Linked DNA regions of Homo sapiens: region 1 is linked to region 2. Evidence: promoter capture Hi-C in human tissues and cell types (Jung and others, 2019). All regions are on one chromosome and are shown on one strand. Each heading gives the region's core, a stretch centred on a gene start or on the middle of the fragment in contact. The rest is flanking DNA. Distances are from core to core; before and after follow the strand shown.

What was found. Contacts are between HindIII fragments. The study calls those that stand out against the background at their distance.
Region 1: a fragment that was not itself captured here is called in contact with the fragment with the promoter of MTNR1A in region 2 in 1 of the 25 tissues and cell types used here (H1 embryonic stem cells).

What each region holds. Positions count from the first base shown.
Region 1 is chr4:186,311,960-186,317,975 of GRCh38, forward strand. All of the region lies in intron 1 of F11-AS1 (F11 antisense RNA 1), which reads right to left. Among named protein-coding and RNA genes, the nearest start is that of F11, 49 kb to the left of the region's middle. The HindIII fragment of the contact is 4,467 bases long and covers 2,511-6,016 here.
Region 2 is chr4:186,552,352-186,558,127 of GRCh38, forward strand. MTNR1A (melatonin receptor 1A) reads right to left here and starts at 3,216. Exons shown (of 2, transcript NM_005958.4): 1 at 2,831-3,216. The coding sequence starts at 3,014. The HindIII fragment of the contact is 6,800 bases long and covers 1-5,776 here.

The DNA of each region.
Region 1 (6,016 bases), core at 3,494-5,993, 240 kb before region 2:
TTTAAATGTGAATAAAAGCCTCCTTCCTTCCTTCCTTCTCTCCTTCCTTCCTTCTCTCCTTCCTTCCTTCCTCCTCCTCCTCCTCTTTCTCCTCCTCCTCCTCCTTCTTCTTCCTCTTCTCCTTCTTCCCCTTCTTCTTCTTCCTCTTCTCCTTCCTCTTCTTCTTCTTCCTTCTTCTTTTCAATTTTATATGGCACTAAGACAATATCCCAGGACCACCCTATTCGTAAACTGCCATCACCCAAACTTGTCATAGGATTGCTTTAGATCTGGATTGTGATGATGTAATAGCAATGTTTATCATGCTTTTATTGTGAGCCTGGTGCTATACTAATTTATATAAAGATGATCTCGTTTAAAATTCCCAATAACATGCAAGAGCTGATGGTATTTTCCCTGTTTTATGAATGAAGAAGCCGAGACTCTGACGGGTTAGGTGGCTTGTCTGTGGACACTCCCTCAATAAGGAGCAGGGCTGGCTGGCAGGCTTGCTCTGACCCCATCAGCAATACTCTCCACTCCCCTGCCACGGTGCCTGCTGCCGGAGGGATCTCCAATCACTCAGCTGAATTTTAATTTTATCTTATGGATGAAGAGTCACGTTTGAGAGTATACTGAATGGAATTTTTCCACGTACCGTTGGTACTATGAATTGTAACTACGTAAGATTGAATTGAGAGCTGGCAGGGGAGCTTTGCTTGGCAAAAATCAGAAGTGGGGAAATTAAGGCTGGGCTGGAGCTAATGTACAGTAGCGGAGACTTCTAAGGCTCATTCATATTTCAGCCTCCTCTCCATCTGGGCTTCTCCCACCCCCCGATTCTGCTGCAATTAGGCAGAGCCATGCTACTATTTCTGATGAATGAATTGTGGTGAAAAATAATGTAGCTTAAATATAGCTTAATAGGCAGGAACATGTATTTACTTGTTGGTATAAAATGTGTAGAAATAGGCCAGGTACGGTAGCTTATGCCGTAATCCCAGCACTTTGGGAGGCCGACACGGGCGGATCAGCAGAGGTCGCGAGTTCAAGACCATCCTGACCAACGTGGAGAAACCCCATCTCTACTAAAAATACATAATTAGCCGGGCATGGTGGCGTGCGCCTGTAATCCCAGCTACTCGGGAGGCTGAAGCAGGAGAATCACTTGGACCCAGAAGGCGGAGGTTGCGGTGACCTGAGATGACACCATTGCACTCCAGCCTGGGCAACAAGAGTGAAACTCCATCTAAAAAAAATAAAAAGGTCAAGAAATGTTGCCTCCTGTTGTGACGATCACTTGGATTCATGGGGAGAAATCTCACTTGGGATTACCCGGGGGTCAGTCAACTACAAAGTTGCCCAGACACACAGAGGACTTTGCACAAGTGAGAAGTCAACTCGTTGGGTTTTAACCACAGACTTGAGCGTTGGTGGTTCACATGGCATCGCCTGGCCTTCCCGGCAAATGGGCTCTCCGTTAGCCCGTTACCTCCAGTTTAGGTGATAGGCACACTGACATGCTCCCTCCCCGCCATGCTCACAATTTATCTTCTATAATTTTGAAATAATTCAGACTTCTTTGGAAAAGCTTCTGTCATTTACTTCAGTCTGGAGGTTGAGGATCCTCCGTAGAGTAGGCGCCAGCCACAATTTTAAAAGGTGTTCCTATGATCTCTTATTTCCTGCAGACGGAAGGAGTCGGGTTTCTGTGCTGTGCCTACTGCAGGGAAGGGGCTGGAAATGGATTCTCTCATCGGAGTTATTGAGGACCTGGACCGAGGCTCAGGTGTTTCTGGGCACTTTAGAAATGATTCTTACTTTTCTTCCGTATTGAAAATCAAAAAAAAGGAAGATGTTATTTCAGCTCATACACTGTAACAAAATTGGTGATATTTAGCTTTCCTATTTACCCCATTTTTTGAGGCAGCAGAAATTCAAGCTATAACACCATCAACACCTGTGAAGGGATTTATTGGTAGAGATGGAGTTTCTTATCCACTGAATCCTTGTGTTGAGTGGAGTGGGCTCACATTCAACAGCTACTATAGCAGTCATAGAGGTCACATTTCACTAAATCATAAGTATTCTAGTAAAACAAATGCAAGGCTGGGTGCAGTGGCTCACGCCTGTAATCCCAGTATTTCAGCAGGCTGAAGCAGGAGCATCGCTGGAGCCCAGTTAAAGACCAGCCTGAGCAACATAGTGAGACCTTGTCTCTACAAAAGCAAAAAATTAGCTGGGTGTGGTGGCACTCACCTGTAGTCTCAGCTACTCAGGAAGCTGAGGCAAGAGAGCTGCTTGAGCCCAGGAGGTCAAGGCTACAGAGAGTTATCATCATCGCACCACTGCACTCCAGCTTGGGCAACAGAGCAAGATGCTGTTTCAAAAATAAATAGATGCATATATTTGCATATGTACATGCATCTAAGTTATAGATGCATCTATTTTATATATATGAATCTATTAATATAGATGCACCTATTATATATAAAAATAGATGCATCTATTATATATATATAATATATATGCATCTATTATACATATATAATATATGCATCTAATTATATATTATATATTATATAAATTATATAAAATATATTAAAATATATATTATAAATTATATAAATATATATTATTATATATAATAGATGCATATATATTTTCTATATATATATGCAAATATATATTTTGGAGCTATTTGGGTAAAAGTAAAATTATAGAATTGATTCTCAATGAAATACCATTTATTTAATAAAATGGTAGAATTAGTCACTTTTCTGTATTACATCATTATTTTTACATTTTGAAGCATTTTACTTTCAGCAATTATTTGCACAGTTGGAATCTTTAGAGGAAACGCAGAGAATTTGGGATGCCATGCTGGCCTGAAATTTCAATCCCAAGAGCACTGACTGCCAGATAATCAGTGTGAATGAGAAGGAAGACTTCGACTCAAATCTAGGACTAGATTAAAATTATAGATAGATAGATAGATAGATAGATAGATAGATAGATAGAATTAGCTTAGTTTATATGCATAATATGTATATATAATTATACATTAAATGTGGTTATTACATATTAGAATAAAGTTAAATTGTACACTTGTGCATATACACACGTACACATATATATACACATATGTGCCATAACAAGCATTTTGAATATATAGGTAGGTGAAAAGAAAGAAATGAGTAAGAGAAGGAGGGAGAGAGGGAAGGAAGGAAAATTAGATTGTACTAGAATGAAATACATGAAAATATTAACAATGATTATTGATGAATGGTGAAATTATATGGACTATTTTAAAAAAATACCACATGATATTTTATTTAATAACAATACATTGTTCTAATAATCACTAAAGTAAAACAACAATGAATGCAAATTAAAAGAAGCAATATGAATGGTACTAAGTTCATACCTAAGCATACTTTAAAGAAAAAGTTATTTTATTTTTTAAAATAAGCTTTATTATTTCATTGAGAAATGCCTCTCATTTGCAAAAGTGTACTCTGAACTTCTGATTTGCAGTCCAGCACATAAAGAGCTTGACATCATCCCTCACATCCTAACAACAGGAACAAAGCTGAATGAACTGGACACCAGCAACTTTTCTTGGATCCGTCAGAGAATTGAGGTCACTGGACATGCCACCGCCTTAAAATTGGAGAGGCAGACAGACAAACCCAGAGAATTATAGCTTAATTCAAACACAGCCCAGGAGCAGCAATCGCCACTGGAGCCAGTACTGGGGTAGGAAAACTTAGACTGCAATTGACAAATTTCTGAAGGCTCTTGTAGATAAGCTTGAGCATTAAAAATGCCAGAAGGGGGCCTGGTCTGGGGTGGGGGCACACTTTTGTGAGTTTTACCTCCAGAAGCCCTGCGGTTCTCATGGTGAGAAAAGAGAAAAATCCCCTCTTGCTTCCCAAAGGGAGCCGTTTTGAGATATGCCCAGAGCATTTTGTGCTCCTTAACAAGACCCATCTTCTAAATTTACAAGGAAAGGCAAAAGATCCAGATGACTAGACACAATATTAAAGGAAAAGAACCAAGTTGAAGAGTTGACATTACCTAACTTCAAGACTTATCGTAAAGCTATAGTAATCAAGACAATGTGGTATTGGTGAAAGAATAGAAAAATCGACCAGCGGAACAGAGTAGACAGCCCACACCCGCACAGATCCCATCAAGCAATCTTTGAAATAGACAAATCGAGCAGCGGAACGGAGTAGACAGCCCACACCCGCACAGATCCCATCAAGCAATCTTTGAAAAGGGCGCAAAGACGTTTCAGTGGAGAATGGATAGTCTTTTCAGGAAATGGCTCTGGAATATCTGCATGCGTAAGAAATGAATTAGACAGAGTTTACATATTTCTTACATATTTCACAAATAATTAACTGAAGATGAATCAAAAGTCTAAATGTAAAATGTAAAACTATGAAACTCCTAGAAGATAATAGGAGAAAATCCAGGTGGCCTCGGGTATGACGATGACTGTTCAGATACAACACCAAAAGTATGGTCCATGAAAGAAAAAAATTATGTCAGACTTCATTAAAATCAAAAACTTCTGCTCTGCAAAAAACTCTGTTAAGAGAATGAACAGACATGCCACAGACATGCAAAAACACACACTTGATAAAGGATTTGAATCCAAAATACACTAAGAACTCTATTTTTTTTTTTTTTTTGAGACAGAGTCTCCCTCTGTCGCCCAGGCTGGAGTGCGGTGGTGCGATCTCAGCTCACTACAACCTCCACCTCCCCAGTTCAAGTGATTCTCCTGCCTCAGCCTCCTGAGTAGCTGGGACTACAGGCATGTGCCACCATGCTGGGCTAATTTTTTTGTATTTTTAGTAGAGACGGGATTTCACTGTGTTAGCCAGGATGGTCTCGATCCCCTGACCTCGTGATCCTCCCGCCTTGGCCTCCCAAAGTGCTGGGATTACAAACAAAGAACTTTTAAAACTCAACAATAAGAAAACAAACAACCCAATTACAAAATGAGCCAAAGATCTGAACAGATACCTCATCCAAGATATACAGGTAGCAAATAAGCATATGGAAAGATGCTCAACATCATGTTATTAGAGAAATGCAAACTAAAGCAACAATAAGACACCACTACATACCTATTAGAATGGCTAAAATCCAAAATGCTGACACCACCAAATGCTAGAGAGGATGTGAAGCAACAGGAGCTCTCATTCATTGTTTTGTCCTTACAAAACTAAATAAACTCTTACTATATAACATGGAAAATGCATGTCTTGGTATTTATCCGAAAGGGCTGAAAAACTATGCACACATAAAAGCCTGAATGTAGATTGTATATGCTTTACTCATAATTGCCAAAACTAGAAAGCACCTAAGATGTTATCCAATAGGAGAATAAATAAACAAACTGTAGGACAAGGTTGTAATGGAATATTATTTAGCAATAAAAAGAAACAAGCTATCAAGCCATTAAAAGACATGGGGGAATCTTAAAGGCATATTGCTAAGAGAAAGAAGCCAATCTAAGCCCGGCACTCACACCTGTAATCCCAGCACTTTCGGAGGCAGAGGTGGGCGGATCACAAGGTCAGGAGATAGAGACCATCCTGGCTAACATGGTGAAACCCCGTCTCTACTAAAAATACAAAAATTAGCTGGGCATGGTGGCATGCACCTGTAATCCCAGGTACCCAGGAGGCTGAGGCAGGGGAAACACTTGAACCTGGGAGGCAGAGATTGCAGTGAGTCGAGATCGCACCATTGCACTCCAGCCTGGGTGACAGAGTGAGACTCTGTCTCAAAAAAAAAAAAAAAAAAAAAAAAGAAAAAGAAAAAAAAAGAGAAAGAAGCCAATCTGAAAAGGCTGCATGCTGCGTCAATCCAACTATGACATTCTGGAAAAACCAAAAGTATGGAAATAGTAAAAAAAAAATCAGTGGCCAGGCGCGGTGGCTCATGCCTGTAATCCCAGCACTTTGGGAGGCTGAGGCAGGCAGATCACCTGAGGTCGGGAGTTCGAGACTAGCCT
Region 2 (5,776 bases), core at 1,966-4,465:
CTGTCATTTTTGCTAATTTCCATTTATTGGCTGTACTCTACCTCAGTTAGATTGCCAGATAATTGAATTTTGAATAGGCAAGATAGTATTGTATTCTTGCCTGATATTTTGTAAAATAAGTTTTATTTAAGTATAATGTACATATAGAAAAATGCACGAATCATAGGTCTATAGTGCAATGATTTCCAGCAAACAGAGCACGCCCTTGTTAGGTGTACCCAGAAAACAAACAAGCCAACACAGTATTACGTGTTTTATCCTTTTCAAAGTATTCTCATATGCGCCACTTCACTACAGTCATTGCAACACTCTTATGAGGCTAAGCGGTTGGGTATTACCTGCAATTCAACAAATGTGGAAAATGAAGTTTGGTATTTAGCTTCACTGATTTCTGAAATCAGAAGGAGCACAGCAAGGATCTAATCCTAGCGTTCCATTGCGGGAATCGTCCCTTATGCTATCAAATTTACTCAGAAGATATGATATGGTAGCTTCACTTCTATTATCAAATTGTGGACAAGAGTAGAGCGAATATTCTGTTGGCACCACAGATACCAGTGGTTGTCTGCAGCCTGCGTCGGCTGTGGCTGTCCACTGTCCCCGCCATGCAGATTGTTAGCCATTTTTAATTTATTCCCTGGGAAGTCAAATGTCAACACAGTCCCTTGAGGAGAGGAAGGTGGCATAAATCACCACAATTATACCAAGCTTTCCAAAGGAAAGTGATGGTTCAAAGCCTAGATGCCTTCACATTGTCATTTCTTCCATTCTCTTCTTCCCAACATTTCATCCTTAAAGCCAACAAAATTAATTTAGCTGAAATGAGAGGTCTGAAGATCATCAAAACTTTTAATAAGCATACCAAAACTTATATTTGAATCAGCTATCCTTATCACTGTTTCAAATTACCATCCATTCCAGAAATCCTCAAATGGCTTGAACCGCACATATAAACAAAAAATCCCTATTAGAAAAATATGGAACTTCTAAAGCTGTGCGGATTAAAGGTCACTAAGGGTCTCCCATGCAGCTACAGGAATATCCTCTTAAGAGCACGTCTTAGCAAATAAAATACAAAGTGAGTGTAAGGAGTTCTTAAGTTCTTCTTCAGAAAACACAAGAAGTAAAATTGTTCAGGCGTGATCATTTTTTACTTTTTATTTTATTTTATTTTTTTGAGATGGAGTTTCACTCTTGTTGCCCAGGCTAGAGTGCAATGGCACAATCTCTGTTCACTGCAACTTCCGCCTCCCGGGTTCAAGCGATTCTCCTGCCTCAGGCTTCCAAGTAGTTGGGATTACAGCTGTGGGCCACCACATCCAGCTAATTTTTTGTATTTTTAGTAGAGACGGGGTTTCACCATGTTGGCCAGCTGGTCTCGAACTCCTGACCTCAGGCGATCCACCCACCTCGGCCTCCCAAAGTGCTGGGATTACAGGCTTGAGCCATCGCGCCCAGCCGTGAACACTTTTTAAAGGTTCTGCAGGATTCAAACTTCCCAAATGCTGCAGGTGTTGACAGCAAGGAAGCAGGGCGAGCTCTGGAGGCCAGCTCTGGGAATTCAACCGGGCTCACACCTACAGTCCCTGGGAACAATCTGCAGCCCCAGTTTCTCCTCTGTAAGGCGAGTTGACCACGGCGCCACAGCACAAGGCTGCACTAGGATTCAATTAACCCAGTGCTCACAACCTGTTTGGTCCAGAGAAAGTCGTTTTTATTGCTAGGAAGGAAAGAGCCTCTTCTCGAAGGCAGAATTCCTCCAGTTTATATCAATCACCTACGAAGTGAGCTTATTCAATTTACTGACTCAAACTCAATTCATATTACTAAGTGCTTAACTAACTAATTCTCAAACTACAAACCGTAAAAGCACTACTGGGGGCGGGTGGGGGAGGCAGGGCAGGGGTGAGCCTCCCCAAAAGGAGCTAAGCAAAATTAGAGCTTTTCTTAACCACCTGGTTAAAACGAAAATATTGATCTTGGCAGACATGTTAAGTGCACGTTTCGTTCCCCGCCCCTTCTCCCAAAAGTGCCTCCAAATAAAAAACTAGTTTCTTCAGAGAACCAAGCATCTAATCATCACTCAGAGGTCTGAACATCCAGCATCCTAAGAACAAAGTGTCCACAGGTTCCCACCAGAACAAACCAGTTCAATGCATTGCTCGGAGGAAAAAGCAAGTTAACTCAAGCACACAATTACCTGTAGTTGCATATTATACGTAAGTGTACTCTTTCCTGCTCACGCCTGGCTACCTGCCTACTCTAACACAACAACTTCCGTTTTTAAAGTGTCAACTTGTTTACTTGGAGGAGCCGCCGCCTGCCGGACACAGCACGTTTGGGAGCCTCTCTTTCCACTGTAGGCTCGTAACTGCAGACTACTCCCGAACAACAAGACCACGGCGGCTGCTCCATCATTTTGCCAGCTTCTATGTTTCCATATTTTAACAATGTTGGGAAAACTAAATCACATGTTAAGACCAAGCAATTGATCAGTTCGTTGCAGAGGCTGCTTGAGGAACTTTCTGCAGCCTGGACCTGAGGCTTCTCAATCTAATAAACCTCAGACAGGACAACCAGACGGGGGTGTCCCCATAGGAAAGAGAACCCGACTCTGGTGGAGTGTCCCACCTCTTAGGGGCTGTGACTCCGCGCCTTATGAAAAGGCACTTTCAACGGGCAGGCTGGAGAAGAGTCCTCTCTAACAGGAAAAATAACTCCAAGTCCGCAGTGTTTAGGAAAAAGAACCAAGTGCTTGGGGAAGGCTGGCTGCCCGCGGAGAGGCGCTGCGTCCGGAGCGCTGGCCCAGGGGAGGCGGCGCGGGCCCTACCTGCGTTCCTGAGCTTCTTGTTCCGATACACCGACAGGATGACCAGGAGGTTGCCCAGGATGTCCACCACGATGGTGAAGATGAGGACGCAGGCCAGGGCGGACGCCAGCCACGAGGGCCGCGCGCCGTCCCCGCGGAGCACGGGCTGGGAGGCGTTGGGCAGCGCGCTGCCGTTGCCCTGCATGGTCCCTGTGCGCGTCCCGGCCGCGGGGCCATCGCCCGCCTCGTCCGCCCGCCCGACCACTTGTTAAGGCTCCGCCCGGCGCTCCCCGCGCCCACGCCCCATCCCGCGCGCTCCTCCACGCCGCGCCCCCGGACGCCCACGCCGCGCCGGACGCCACGGCCAGGTGACACCTGGTGTCCGCCGCGAGCCCGCTTGGATTCCCCGCCCGCAGCTCGAACCCCGCACCACGGGCCGACAGCGCCCCGGTGCGGGAAGCCGGGCCCAGCCGCCGCGCCCTGGGGACGGTGTCCCAGAGGCCTCTCCTCGTGGGCGCACGGCGAGGCCGTTCATTGTGTTTCCTCTCTGGGATGGGACTTTTCACCCAGCAGGGCCAGGCTGCCTGGGATCAAATGCGAAATGGGATTGGGGCGAGTTCACCAGCTGTGTGCCCCACCGCCCTTATCTTCCTTATCTGCAAAATGGGAATAAGATACTATCTCACCTGTTAGCCTCATAATTAGTAAAATGTGAAAAAACCAAGGACTGTCTTCCGTTGTGTATTGCACCGCTTAAGATGGTGCTAGATGTTTCCGATAATGAAATGACATTTTCAAAGAAAAAAGTAAAACTCAATATTTGCAGATGATAAAAATGTATGTACTTCTGTAAGTACCAGTAAAAATGAGAAAGAAAGCACACTTAGGTGGATCGGATACATGGCAGCAATGTAAAAGTGCTAGGAAATGGCCTAACCAGTTGTGTGCAGTGAGGAAAAAACTTTATGAAAACCATGAAAGGAAATTTAAATAAACGGAGAGACAAACAGTGTTCCTAGCTTCGAAGCCTGAAATTTTCATTTTCCTCATATACTTTATGCCAGACCAAGAAAAATATCAAATAACCTAAAGTTTCTTTGAAAGAGTAAAAAGAAAGTGTAGGAAAAGGATTTGAATAAGATGAATAGGAGAGAAGTATGACCTACCAGTATCAAAATGTTCATTAAAAATTACAATTAAGTGGCGCCTGGGATTACAGGCACGGTGGCTCACGCCTGCAATCCCAGCACTTTGGGAGGCCGAGGTGGGCGGATTACCTGAGGTCAGGAGTTCAAGACCAGCCTAGCCAACATGGTGAAACCCCGTCTCTACTAAAAATACAAAAATTAGCCGGGCGTGGTGGCACAGGCCTATAATCCCAGCTATTCGGGAGGCTGAGGCAGGAGAATTGCTTGAGCCCGGGAGGCGGAGATTGCAGTGAGCCGAGATCGTGCCACTGCACTCCAGTCTGGCAGACAGAGCAAGACTCTGTCTCAAAAAAAAAAAAAAAAAAATTACAATAAGTATGCCAGGCACGGCTGCTCACACCTGTAACCCCAGCACTTTGGAAGGCTGAGGCAGGTGGATCACCTGAGGTCAGGAGTTTGAGGCTGGCCTGGCCAACATGGTGAAACCTCGTCTCTACTAAAAACACAAAAATTAGCCAAGTATTGTGGTGGGCGCCTGTAATCTCAGGAGCCTGAGGCAGGAGAATCGCTTGAACCCGGGAGGCAGAGATTGTAGTGAGCTGAGATCACGCCACTGCGCTCCAGCCTGGGCCAAAAAGAATGAGACTCCGTTTCAAAAAAAAAAAAAAAACTAAAACAGTATTGAGCTCATAAACAATTTGAAAAAGCATATAAAATAAAGATTTTATAAAGTGAACAGTTCAAATCAGTAGGGCTGGGATAGATCACGAAAACAAAAATGCATTTAAAGAAAATGTAGGTAAATATACATATCACTTGAGGTAGAGAAGCACTCTGTAAGCCTGGAAAAAAGACAGACAGGAAATAATCCTAACCATAGAAAAGGTAGCAGCTGCCATGGACAGCGTGTGTCACTTCCCATCTCTGGCATCGGTATCTTACAACCATTGTTTGCACAATGTGTTAACAATTCCAGAAGGTCTGGCACTGCTGCGACCATTTTATGGACGAGAAACCTCTGGTGCTGAGAGGTTAAGCAATGTACCAAAGTCACACAGCTGGTAACAAGTAGAGGCAGGATTGGAACTCAGGTCTCTCTGACTGCCAAGCAAGGAGCCTCATTACTAAGTGATAGTGTTTCTCGGTCGTGATAGATTTGACTACGGAAAAGTTAAAAGTCCTATATTCAAAAAATACCACACACAAGTGAAAGCTAGAGAAACTGGGGAAATGATTTGTGACATAGCTAAGAGACGAAGCATTAATGGTCTTCATTATTGTTATGGTTTCAGCATGTCCCCAGAATTTGTGTGTGGAAAATTTGGTCCCCAGGGGAAGGCGGGGCCTTCAAGAGGCGATCAGGTCAAGAGGGTTATACCACTCTGTCTGACTGGGTTAATTCTGCAGGCATGAGTCAGTTCTTGCTCTCCTGGGACTGGATTAGTTACAGTGAGAGTGGGTTTTAAAAAATTACCACTCCAGCCTGGGAGACAGAGAGAGACTCTGCTTCAGAAAAAAAAAAAAAAAATTATCCAGTCCCAGGTATTGCTGTATTCTGTAATAGTGATGGAAAACAGACTAAGACAATTATATAAAGAGCTAAGGAAAAAAAATAGAAATATATTTAAAGGTCATAATTAGACAAAAACTAAAAATGTATGTGTAACCTCTTTTAGCAAAAAAGTTAAAAAAAAGAGAAAGCTTCCATTCCAGCGATCACTTTAGAAAACATTATATTGGTAGTGCCAAGTGTGGTTTGAAACACGTGGAGAAAAAGCATTCCTGTGCACCAGATATGGACGTCTTCAAACTGCATACA